Linked DNA regions of Homo sapiens: region 2 is linked to region 1. The links are contacts of gene promoters, found by promoter capture Hi-C in blood cells and fetal thymus (Javierre and others, 2016). All regions are on one chromosome and are shown on one strand. The core of a region is centred on a gene start or on the middle of the fragment in contact, and the rest is flanking DNA. Distances in the headings are between cores, read along the strand shown. Region 1 holds the start of SAR1B (secretion associated Ras related GTPase 1B). Region 2 holds the start of C5orf15 (chromosome 5 open reading frame 15).

Region 1 (6,047 bases), core at 1,542-4,041:
CAGATCACTTGAGGTCAGGAGTTCGAGACCAGCCTGGCCAACATAGTGAAACCCCGAGTTGGGATGAGTATTTAAAGTGAGCGAGCGTAGAAATACTATGCTCAGCCAAGTGAGTACTTAACGAAATGAGTGTAGAAGGCTGGGGGAGGTGGCTCACGCCTGTAATCCCAGCACTTTGGGAGGCTGAGGGGGGCGGATCACCTGAGGTTGGGAGTTCGAGACCAGCCTGACCAAAAAGGAAAAATCTTGTTTCTACTAAAAATACAAGATTAGCTGAGTGTGGTGGTGTATGCCTGTAATCCCAGCTACTCGGGAGGCTGAGGCAGGAGAATCGCTTGAACCCAGGAGGCAGAGGTTGCAGTGAGCTGGAGATCACGCCATTGCACTCCAGCCTGGGCAACAAGAGCGAAACTCTATCTCAAAAAAAAAAAAAAAAAAAAAAGTAAGTGTAGAAATACACCTATAGCAGGACACAGTGGCTCACGCCTGTAATCCAAGCACTTTAGGAGGCCAAGCCGGACAGATCACTTGAGTTCGGGAGTTCAAGACCAGCCTGGCCAACATGGTGAAACCCCATCTCTACTAAAAATACAAAAATCAGCAGGATGTGGTGGTGCATGCCTGTAATCCTAGCTACTTGAGAGGCTGAGGCAGGAGAATCACTTGAACCCTGGAGGTGGAGGTTGCAGTCAGCCTGGAGCCACTGCACTCCAGCCTGGGCGATAGAGCGAGACTCCGTCTCAAAAAAAAAAAAAAAGAAAAAAGAAAAGAAATACTAATATAGCATTCCAACTTGTAAGCTTCAAATGATGTGGCAATGATTTTCATTTCCTTTTCTATTTCTTTTTTTTTCTTTTTTTTTTTTTTTTTTTTTTTTTTTTAGCAACAATGTCTTTTTCTTTCACCCAGGCTGGAGTGCAGTGGCATGATCACAGGTCACTGTAGTCTTGACCTGGCTTCAAGCAAACCCCCCATCTCAGCAGCGAGTAGCTGGGACTACTGGCCTGCTAGCCAGGGCCCTGCACCCAGCAAATTTTTTTTTTTTTAATGTAGAGACTGGGTCTTGCTATGTTGCCCAGGCTGATTTTCATTTCTGTTAGACTCATCTTTTTTCTTAATTCTTGCTTGAATTTCTATTCCAGTACAATAATGCAAGTCAAAGGAAGGTTAAAATATACCTTATTTAAACTGCTAATCTTTGTAATTACTGACAGTGCATCTCTGACATTTCTAAAATGAAGACACCTTCCTTTTCTACAAACTCAGAAAATGCCAATGAACTATCTTAACATTTTTTAAGTTCAAAACATTTTGGTGACAGACACAAGTCTACTGAAAGGTATAATAGTAGATAATCATGTTGCTTTGCTATACTGGCACCACCATTTATTTGTCATCTGTAAAATGACAGCTAGTGCCTTACTCATAGTAGTCAATAAATGTTCCTTTTCTTTCCTTCTTTCATTGTTTCAATGTGACCTACTCTTCACTGATACTTTAACACGGAATATAGGACGTCTTCAAAGACACTTAGTAATATAGAGGCTGATGTAAGAACACACAAATAAATAATACTATGTTTAATTTTTCAAGTTAAAAGGACTTCTTCACCTCATTTTGTCCACTGTACCAAACACCTTAAATTGCTGACGAATTTGGTTCTTTCAGCTAACAATGTCAAAGTTTTAGCTGTTTTAAAACAAATCTTCTTGGAAAAGCTTCAACACCTTAAAAATCAGTACAGTGGCCCACTGAGGTGGCTCATGCCTTTAATCCCAGCACTTTGGGAGGCCGAGGCGAGCAGATCACCTGAGGTCAGGAGTTGGAGACCAGACTGGCCAACATAGAGAAATCCCATCTCTACTAAAAATAGAAAAGTTAGACCGGATGCGGTGGCTCACGCCTATAATCCCAGCACTTTGGGAGGCCGAGGCAGGCGGATCACGAGGTCAGGAGATAAGAGACCATCCTGGCTAACACGGTGAAACCCCATCTCTACTAAAAAATACAAAAAAATTAGCGGTGCGTGGTGGCGGGCACCTGTAGTCCCAGCTACTCGGGAGGCTGAGGCAGGAGAATGGCGTGAACCCGGGAGGCGGAGCTTGCAGTAAGCCGAGATCGTGCCACTTCACTCCAGCCTGGGCGACAAGAGGGAAACTCTGTCTCAAAACAACAACAAAAATTTAAAAAATTAAAACAAAAATCAGTACAGTTTTCTCAACAGTGTATCTTTTTTCCACTTAACTGGGACTTTGGGCTACGGAAAACGTTAACCAGTACTAGTAAGGAAGCTCAATTTGCCTCTACACTAATTGGGAGCGCTGAAAACACCAGGCCGTGTCACAGCCTCTTCAGCTGTCAGTGAGACCCGCCACCTTCACCTTACCAGGTAAGGAAACTGAGGCCCAGGGGAAGGAAGGGGCTTGCCTGCAGCCACCTCGTTCTTTCCTGAAAAGACCAAGCGTCTGACAGCAGCAGTGTTCTGCCTCGAGGGCTATCAGACGGCCCCGCGGAGCATGGATGAGACCTGTCCTCCCTCGCGCCGCCTAACCCCGGGGTGAAAAACAGGCGCCCCTTCACGCAGTGCCACAGGCAGGGACTCAGAGTAGGTCTTGGCCCTAAAAGTGCGCCTTCTAGGGGATCCATAGCTGCTGCCCACCGGTCCTCCCAGAAGGAGGGGCTGTCACTCACCTGCGACTGGAGGGAACGCAATCCCCTACTTGGCGTTGGCCGTACACCAGGAGACCGAACTGCAAAGCGCGATGGCTGCCGTGGCCCCAGTTCGCATCAGCCCCTTCCGGGCCGGCGGGTGCCTCACTAGCGACAGTCCGCAGGACCGCGTCGCCGAGCGCCCTAGGTTCCGCCTCCTGGCAGTCTTGCCGCCAATTCCCCAGTTGAGCGAGGCTGCTCGCAACCCCTAACACCGCCTGGGTCTCCCAGCCGCCTGGTCTCCCCACACCCGCCCGCCCGAAGGGATTTTAGGGGCCTGCGTGCCGAGAAAGGAACACCCCATGCCTCCCTAGGGGAAATTACTTTTGGCATTTTTTTTTTTTGAGACGTTGTCTCGCTCTGTCTCCCAGGCTGGGGTGCAGTGGCACGATCTCGGCTCACTGCAGCCTCCACCCCCTGGATTCAAGAGATTCTCCTACCTCAGCCTCCCCAGTAGCGGGGACTACAGGCACCCGCCACCACTGTCCGGCTAATTTTTTTTTTTTTTGAAACGGAGCCTCGATTTTGTCGCCCAGGCTGGAGTGCAATGGCGCGATCTCAGCTCACTGTAACCTCCGCCTCCCGGGTTCAAGCGATTCTTCTACCTCAGCCTCCTGAGTAGCTGGGAGCACAGGCGCGCACCACCATGCCCGGCTAATTTTTGTATTTTTAGTAGAGACGGGGTTTCACCATGTTGGCCAGGCTGGTCTCGAACTCTTGACCTAAAGTGAACCGCCCGCCTCGGCCTCCCAAAGTGCTAGGATTACAGGCGTGAGCCACTGCGCCCGGCTAATTTTTGTATTTTTAGTAGAGACCGGGTTTCATCATGTTGGCCAGGCTGGTCTCAAACTCCCTAGCATAAGTGATCCACCTGCCTCAGCCTCCCAAAGTGCTGGGATCACCACCGCGCCCTGCCTAAAATACATTTTCAAAGTACACGTGCTTATTGAATTCATTTTTTTTTCTTTTTTTGTTATTTGTGCTTATTGAATTCACCAGTGATTTACACAATGTAGCTACGTACCAGATAATGTGTTGGATGCTGGTTATTCAGCTTTTATTCAGCTGGTTATTCAGTTGTTTTATAGACGGTCTTGGCCAGGCGCGGTGGTTCACACCTGTAATCTCAGCACTTTGGGAGGTCAAGGTGGGTGAATCACCTGAGGTTAGAGTTCAAGACCAGCCTGGCCAACATGGTGAAACCCCATCTCTACAAAAATACGAAAATTACCCAGGCATGATGGCAGGTGCCTGTAACGCCAGCTACTCGGTAGGCCGAGGCAGGAGAATTGCTTGAACCCGGGAGGTGGAGGTTGCAGTGAGCCGAGATTGCACCATTGCACTCTAGCCTGGGCGACAGAGCGAGACTCTGTCTCCGTCTCAAAAAATAAATAAATTAATTAAATTAAAAATAAATTTAAAAATTATATATATATATAGACGGTCTTGCTCTTTCTCCCAGGCTGGAGTCCAGTGGTGCTATCATAGCTCACTGCAGCCTCAATCTCTTGGGCTCAAGGAATCCTCCCATGTAGCTGGGACCACAGGCGTGTGCCACCAGGCCCAGCTAATATTTGAATTGTTTTGTAGAGATAGGGGTCTCATTATGTTGCCCACGCTGATCTTGAACTCCCGGGCTTAAGCGATCCTCCGGCCTCTGCCTCCCAAAGTGCTGAGATTACAGGAGTGTAGTCAGATAGTCAGCATTTTTTTTTTTGGAGGCGGAGTCTCACTCTGTCGCCCAGGCTGGAGTGCAATGGTGCGAGCTTGAGCTCTGCTCACTGCACCTCCGCCTCTCAGGTTCAAGCAATTCTCCTGCCTCAACCTCCCAAGTAGCTGGGATTACAGGCGCAGTCCACCATGCCTGGCCAATTTTTTGTGTTTTAGTAGAGACAGGGTTTCATGGTGTTGCCCAGGCTGGTCACACCCGACTAATTTTTTGTATTTTATTAGAGATGGGGTTTCACCGTGTTGCCCAGCCTGGTCTTGAATGCCTGAGCTCAGGCAATCCACCTGCCTTGGCCTCCCAAAGTGCTAGGATTACAGTTGTGAGCCACTGCACCTGGCCGTAGTCAGCCTTTTTGTATGTTTGTTTTACTATGGAACAGTTCATGAATTTGCCTATCATCCTTGTGCAGGGGCCATGCTAATCTTCTCTGTATCATTTCAGTTTTAGTATATGTGCTGCCAAAGAGAGCACACAGGTATTCAGCTTTAAACAAGACTGTTTTGACACCAATGTTCTTTTCTAATGGATTGGCATTGCCTTCTTTAAATGCATCAAGAGCTGTTTAGGGATTCTCAGCAAAGCCTATCATTGGCTCTGCTGGATCTCCTCTTTCTGCTCCAGCCTCAGGAAGTGCTTCACTCCATGCGCTCTCCCTTGACACTAGGGTTTCCCTCCGCCAGAAAAGCTTCTACCCACCTCTGCATTTCACCCGGCTAACTCCTACACACTTTTCAGGTCTCAACTCTTCAGGTCTTCCTCTCATCAAGGCCTTCCTCCCAGATTTGGTTAAGTCCTCTGTTACAGATTTTGAGATGGAGCAGGGACCCCTCTTAGGGGCCTGCCTGACTCTCCCAACCAAGTATGGAAGTAAGGGAAAATCTCGAGTTCCTTTAAGGGAAATTCCCCACACCTAGCTAGCCCTGAGCAACTTGATAAGCAAGAAAGTAATAGTAGCTCAAAACAACAGCCTAAGAAGTTTGAGTCATAAGATGTTTGGTTCTTTATAAAAACTAAAGATAACATCTTAACATATGTCCCTGAGTTGTTTTTCAGAAACCCAGACCCACATCAAATGGACCCACTGGAGCCGGGTGTGGTGGCTCATGCCTGTAATCCCAACACTTTGGGAGGCTGAGGCAGGAGGATTGCTTGAGCCCAGGAGTTTAAGACCAGCCTAGGCAATATAGTGAGACCTCATCTCCATAAAAAATAAAAAAAATTAGCTGGGCATGGTTGTATGCCTGTAGTCCCAGCTACTTGGGAGGCTGAGGTGGCAGGATTGCTTGATTTGAGCCTGGGAGATCCAGGCTGCAGTGAGCTATGATCCCACCACTGCACTCCAGCCTGAGCAACAGAGTGAGACCTCATCTCCCCCACCAAAAAAAAAAAGATATTCCATCTTTTTAGGCCAAACCAATGTATAACCTCATTTACTGATATACAATTTTGCCTGTAACTTCTGCTTTTCTGAAATTTACCCCTCCCTTTAAAAACTCTTGCTTAGGCCAGGCACAGTGGCTCACACCTGTAATCCCAGCACTTTGGGAGGCCGAAGTGGGCGGATCACCTGAGGTCGGGAGTTCAAGACCAGACTGGCCAACATGGTGAA
Region 2 (6,047 bases), core at 3,000-5,499, 660 kb before region 1:
AGATATGAAGAGTATTCAGAACAAAGGTACAACTCTGACTTTACGGATTTAACTGTTGACCTTCTATGAGCATATAAATAAGACTTCTAAATCTTCCCTTTCCTAATTGATATTACCTCTCTACTTGAAGCTTAACATTTTAAAAATAAAGCTTAGGCCGGACACGGTGGCTCACGCCTGTAACCCTAGCACTTTGGGAGGCCAGGGCAAGTGGATCGCTTAAGCACAGGAATTCAAGACCAGCCTGGCCAACATGGCAAAACCCCATCTCTACAAAAATACAAAAATCAGCTGAGCACGGTGGCAGGCACCTGTGGTCCCAGCTATTCAGGGGGCTGAAGTGGGAGGACTGCTTGAGCCCAGGAGGCGGAAGTTGCAATGGGCCAAGTTTGTGCTACTGCACTCCAGCCTGGGCGACAGAGCAAAACCCTGTCTCAAACAAACAAACAAAAAAGGCTGGGCACAGTGGCTCAGGCCTGTAATCCCAGCACTTTGGGAGGCCAAGGCGGGCGGATCACGAGGTCAGGAGATTGAGACCATCCTGGATAACACGGTGAAACCCCGTCTCTACTAAAAATACAAAAACTAGCCAGGTGTGGTGCGCGCCTGTAGTCCCAGCATACTCGGGAGGCTGAGGCAGAAGAATCACTTGAAACCGGGAGGCGGAGGTTGCAATGAGCCGAGATCACGCCACTGCACTCCAGCCTCGCGACAGACTCAAAAAAAAAACAAAAAACAAAACTTTATAAATTTAATTCTCCCCTTCTACTGGTCCCTTTTTAAAAACTGCCCTAAAATAAAACTATATCAGCATTTCTTAAACTTAAGAATGCAGAGGACCCCGAGAACTCATTCACACACTGGTTTGAGAAACAATGCCTTAAAAATGAAATGCATTATACATTAAGTTTAGGTGATCATTTGGGGACAATATAATGGCAAATGTAGAGAACCAGGCATTTTTGAAATGGCATGACCAAGAATTAGTCACCCAGTGATCCAAACTGCTTATGTTAATTTTTTAGACTTGATCAAAACAAAAACATAAAACAAAAATTCTTACAGACTGACGAGCATATAACCAAGCATTGACAGTTTTTAAAACCTAATATGGAACAAATTTAAATAAATCTAATGTGGTAACCTTCTACCTTTGTAAACTCACTTGAAATTTGGAACTCAACACATTCTAGACTAATTTTCTTATTACAGGAGTGACTACTTTGAAATTATAAGGTATGCTTACAAAAAATACTTATATCCCAAGCTACACTGTAGTGCAGTGGAGCTGCTCGCCTATTAAAGACATGTATGTTCGTTTTCATTTAGCTTCTTTTCAGGACAGAATAATCTGAATTTATGACATTTTAAACTGGTGTATGTAAAGACTTAATTTAAAAGATAAAGATTCTCTAAAATGTCTCAGTATAGTTAGAAAAATATTTATAGGGCTCTAACAAATAAAAGCAGAGACTAAAGGACACTTAACAGTCCACATTCTGCCTCACTTCTTGCCCAATTTTCAACCATCTCTTAGGGGAAAAAAGCTGTTTCTGAAACTACAGTTGCCAGATATATATCCCTTAAGCATTCCAGCAGGAAATATAAATGTTTGTGTTTTATTTTTCTTAGATGATTAAATGGCCAAAACAATTAAGCTACTTAAGTACTTTAGGAACGGGAATATCTGCATCAACCAGGGAAATCCTCATTACATTTCACTAATGATAAAAGGGCCTTAGGAAATGGACAGCAGTCCTTCCTCAGGGACTGCAAAGACTTCTGGGAGGGCGTCCAGTTAGCAACACTGAAATGTTGCTGAGGAAACATAAGTATGTACCCACAGTACTGTCGCAGAGGAATGTAGGGCTGGACAGGCCCTGCTGGCAAGAAAGAAAACACTATACCAGGTCACACTGTTTTGCAGCTGAAAATTCAAATTTAGGGAGAAACGCAGGACTGTGTCTTGGCCTGAAAGAAAAATGGGACTACTAAACAAAATACCGTTTAATCCTTACAAGTTCTTAATAGTGGATTTTTCCCACCAAGTATCAGGCACTGGTTTACAGATTTCCTAATTTCTCAATAAAAGCCTTCAATCTCTTGATTTCACCATGCAACATTTGCAAGAAATGAAATATTTTATCAATCAAATCCTACAGATGCATTAAAACGAGGCAGGGTTATCCTGGTTAACTCGGAACACAGGGAAGAGGAATCATGATCTCCCTTGTCTCCAAACTCCTCTCTGCCTCCCAAGCCTTCAGGGGCCCAACGCCCCAGTACTCTGAATCTTTATCAAACACCAGAACCTCCCAGTCTTCAAATATGCACCAGTACCCTAAGACAGCTCTTTCCCTTTCACTTTCCCTCTCGGAAATATTCCATTGGTTCAGTCCAGTCACTGGATTACTGCCCCTGCCCGCCTCGGTCTTTACCACTGACCTCTCCCATTCTGGAAAACCCCCACCTTTCCTTGGTCCTGCAAGATTCCTGAGTCCCCCAAACTCAGGACCCTTTCCAGACACCACACCCCCAGCCCCGGCCACCTCCTCAGCCCCTGTCGCCACCCTCTCTTCCAGAGTCTCCTAACTTTCCGATCCAAGAAATTTTGGAGACCCCACCACCGCCATTCCTTGCGGCAGCCCATTCTTCAACGATCTCTAGGCGCTAACACCACTCCTCCCTCCCCGCCCATCTACACACCCTGCTGCCTGCTCCCTGGGTTCCTGCATCTCTCAGGGACCCCGCTTCTCAGGCCCCTTGGAGACCCTACCACCTTGGACCCCTTCAGACACCATACCCTCCGTCCTCAGGCCCGCGGAGACCCTGACCCAACCAGACACCGCCGTCTGCTCCTGACACTTGGAAGCGCCCTTTCCCTGGCCCGGCCTGTCTCCTGCCCTGCGCCCGAGCCCTCCTAGCCTTCCTAAGCCCACACTGCCGCCCCCCTTTACCACTGGATAGAGCGGCGGACACAAGCAGGAGCGCCAAGACCAGCGGCCGCGCCAACCCCACAAGGGCTTGGATGGCCGACCCGGGCAGCAGTTTCGCTTGTGCTGGCCCCCTCATCCTCTTCGGGACGGCAGCGGCCATAACGGACTCGGCTGGGAGCCTGCGCTGTTGCTAGGCTCTACGCCATGAGGTCAGACGCCGCGGCCCTCGGCACATACGTCCCAGCGTGGTGACGTCGAAGCCTGGAGACGTGCTCTGGAAACCGGAATAAGAAGGAAGGATTGCAGGGAGGAGGGAGTTGCCGCTAGGCGAAAGTGGGGACCGCCACACAGTTGGCTGCGGATTAAAGGTAGGGTGTGACGTGCTGAAGAGGGCCAAAGCGAGCCCCTCCCTGCCGCCTGCATGATTGGGTACTATACAGCCAAAAATAGCGTTTTTAGCCATTTTAAAAAGGAAGATCCAGCTGTAGAACAGACTGATCACGAAAGCGAAGTAACTGCTCTTCCTCTCTCAAAGGCGAAAGAAACACAAATGTTAAGTAGTCCTATTTCGGTGATGGGATTATAAGTAATTTTTAAAAATCTTTCCCGACAGTCATTTATTTTTTTTCAACAAAGATTTAGCACCTCTCCCTATTTAAGATACAGCAGTGAACAAAAAGAACCCCCCACCCCCCCGCCCGCCTTGGCAGTTTATTTTCTTGTGAGGGCGAATATGGTGTAAAATACACACTATACAAGATGATAAAGATATTATGGACCGGCCCTAGTGCAGTGGCTCCCAGCACTTTGGGAGGCCGAGGAGGGCAGATCACCTGAGGTCCGGAGTTGGAGACCAGCCTGGCCAACATGGAGAAACCCCGACTCTACTAAAAATACAAAAATTAGCCAGGCGTGGTGGCGCGTGCCTGTAATCGCAGCTACTCGGGAGGCTGAGGTAGGAGAATCGCTGTAACCCGGGAGGTGGAGGCTGCAGGGAGCCGAGATGCCACTGCACTCTAGCCTGGGCCACAGACTCCGTCTCAAAAAAAAAAAAAAAATTATGGAGGAAAAGAAAGGAAGGTAGCTAGGAAGTAGAGGTGAGGGGCTGCCATTGAAAATAACTTTCAGATTTCCTAAAATAAGCTTCTCTTTTTAAATTTTGTTACTTGAAATCCCCAGTGTATAAAAATGCAAACTTACAAACTTCCAAGAAGTTCACCTAGGGCCCTGGCGCCATACTTTGCTCTGTGTGTACGTTCTGTAAATGTCTCCTTAATAAACAGATACAGGCTTCAATTCATAAAAGTTCCATTTGATCAATTTCAGGAAAATCAATGTGACGTTAAGCAAGACATTTATTGTGCCCACAGCTTCACCATTCTGGTCTCTATGATTCCCTGCGAAGATTGCTGTTATCCCCCAGAGACACAGCTGAGCTGTCTCTCTAAAGGGCCTGTGTTCTACTCCTGAATCTGGTTTCCCCTAAGCTTTTATCTCACCCTGGTGACAGCTCAGAAACACACAAACTCTGTGTTAAGAAAACTAAGAAGTCATTCATCTGCACATTTCCCGAAATCCCCCAGAAGCCCGTATTAGACTGAATGGTGTCCTTATTGCAAACTCTCCACTTTAGCCAAGGTGCAAAGTCCTCCCAGTCCCCCAGGAGCTTCCCTTCTCTGAGCGGTACTTAAGTTTTCTGTAAAACCACTCAGTTCAACAAATGAGCTTCTCAATCTTAGTTTCTGCTTGTTGACTTTAAAGTTAATCTATAATAAACACACTGCAGTCCTCTTCCCTGACTCATTGTCCACTTTGTCCATTTGTGTCCTCATACCAGATTGTCTCAATTCTCTTAACTGGTGAGATATTATGAACTCAAAGCATTTTGCACAATGATATTCCAACATGCTGCATGCAACAAGCAGACAATAAGTAACTAGTGAGGGAAATATTCCCTCATACTCAAGAGAACCCTTTATACATTTTTAAATATTTTAGGGCCAGGCTTATGCCTGTAATCCCAAGTACTCGGGAGGCTGAGATGGGAGGATCACAGGAGCCCAGGAGTTCAAGGCTGCAGTGAGCTATGATGATGACAGTGCACTTCAGTCTGGGTGACAGAGTAAGACTGTCTCTAAAAGTAAAATATCTTAATACTGTACCTGACATCTGACTAGATGTACCCAGCAACCACTATGTGCCATAATCTCTGGATAAATTCTATGAACATTCACTTAGAAATAGCTGCAAGTCCCTGAAGACAGTATGACAAATACTGAGGCCCACAGTTTTTGGGTGATCAGTTGCATAAAATGCTAAAATAGATGGTTCCTGTTTTGAATGTCACTTTCAAACATAGAAAAAAAAGGAATTCTGCTGAAAAATCATGAATGGAAAAAAATGTTCATATTTGTTGAAGCTGGATCATGCATAGAGTTTATTACTATTTGTGTTTCCACAATAGGCTGGATGTGGTGGCTCACGCCTGTAATCCCAGCACTTTTGGAGGCCAAGGTGAGCAGATCACCTGAGGTCAGGAGTTTGAGACCAGCCTGACCAACATGGAGAAACCCCATCTCTACTAAAAATACAAAATTAGCCGGGTGTGGTGGCAAATGTTTGTAATCCTAGCTACTCGGGAGGCTGAGGCAGGAGAATTGCTTGAACCCAGGAGGCGGGGAGGCTGAGGCAGGAGAATTGCTTGAACCCAGGAGGCGGAGCTTGCAGTGAGCAGACATTGTGCGCCATTGCATTCCAGCCTGGGCAACAAGAATGAAACTCCGCCTCAAAAAAAAAAAAATCCACCATCAAGTTATTAAAAACATATAAATATATGGGAGAATTCCAAAATCACCCCTTCCCATGACCCATATGGAGGGACCTACAAACATGAAAGGATATTACCAGTGATTAGGTTACTTTACCTGGCAGTTAACTTGAAGGGAGATTACCCTCATTGGGCCTAACCTAATCAGGTGAGTCCTTAAAAGAGTTGGGGCTCTACCTGGAGGAGACTGGAAGTGTGAGAGGGATTTCACATGAGGGAGTTTTTCTGTTTCTGGCTTTGGCGATGGAGGGGACCCCATGGCAAGGAATGCTGGCATCCTCTGA

The links. The method cuts DNA at HindIII sites, captures the fragments that hold promoters and counts their contacts. A CHiCAGO score of 5 or more calls a contact.
Region 2: a fragment that was not itself captured here is called in contact with the fragment with the promoter of SAR1B in region 1 in 1 of 17 cell types (activated CD4 T cells); the score reaches 5.4 in activated CD4 T cells.

What each region holds. Positions count from the first base shown.
Region 1 is chr5:134,630,037-134,636,083 of GRCh38, forward strand. SAR1B (secretion associated Ras related GTPase 1B) reads right to left here and starts at 2,792. Exons shown (of 7, transcript NM_016103.4): 1 at 2,692-2,792. It also overlaps the pseudogene RNU6-1311P. RefSeq lists silencers at 2,504-2,613, 2,664-2,713 and an enhancer at 2,687-3,243. The HindIII fragment of the contact is 3,405 bases long and covers 1,717-5,121 here.
Region 2 is chr5:133,965,489-133,971,535 of GRCh38, forward strand. C5orf15 (chromosome 5 open reading frame 15) reads right to left here and starts at 3,137. Exons shown (of 3, transcript NM_020199.3): 1 at 2,958-3,137. The coding sequence starts at 3,096. It overlaps LOC105379183 (a long non-coding RNA gene), which reads left to right and starts at 3,201. Exons shown (of 2, transcript NR_134247.1): 1 at 3,201-3,304; 2 at 4,263-4,735. RefSeq lists enhancers at 2,331-2,430, 3,061-3,280. The HindIII fragment of the contact is 344 bases long and covers 4,078-4,421 here.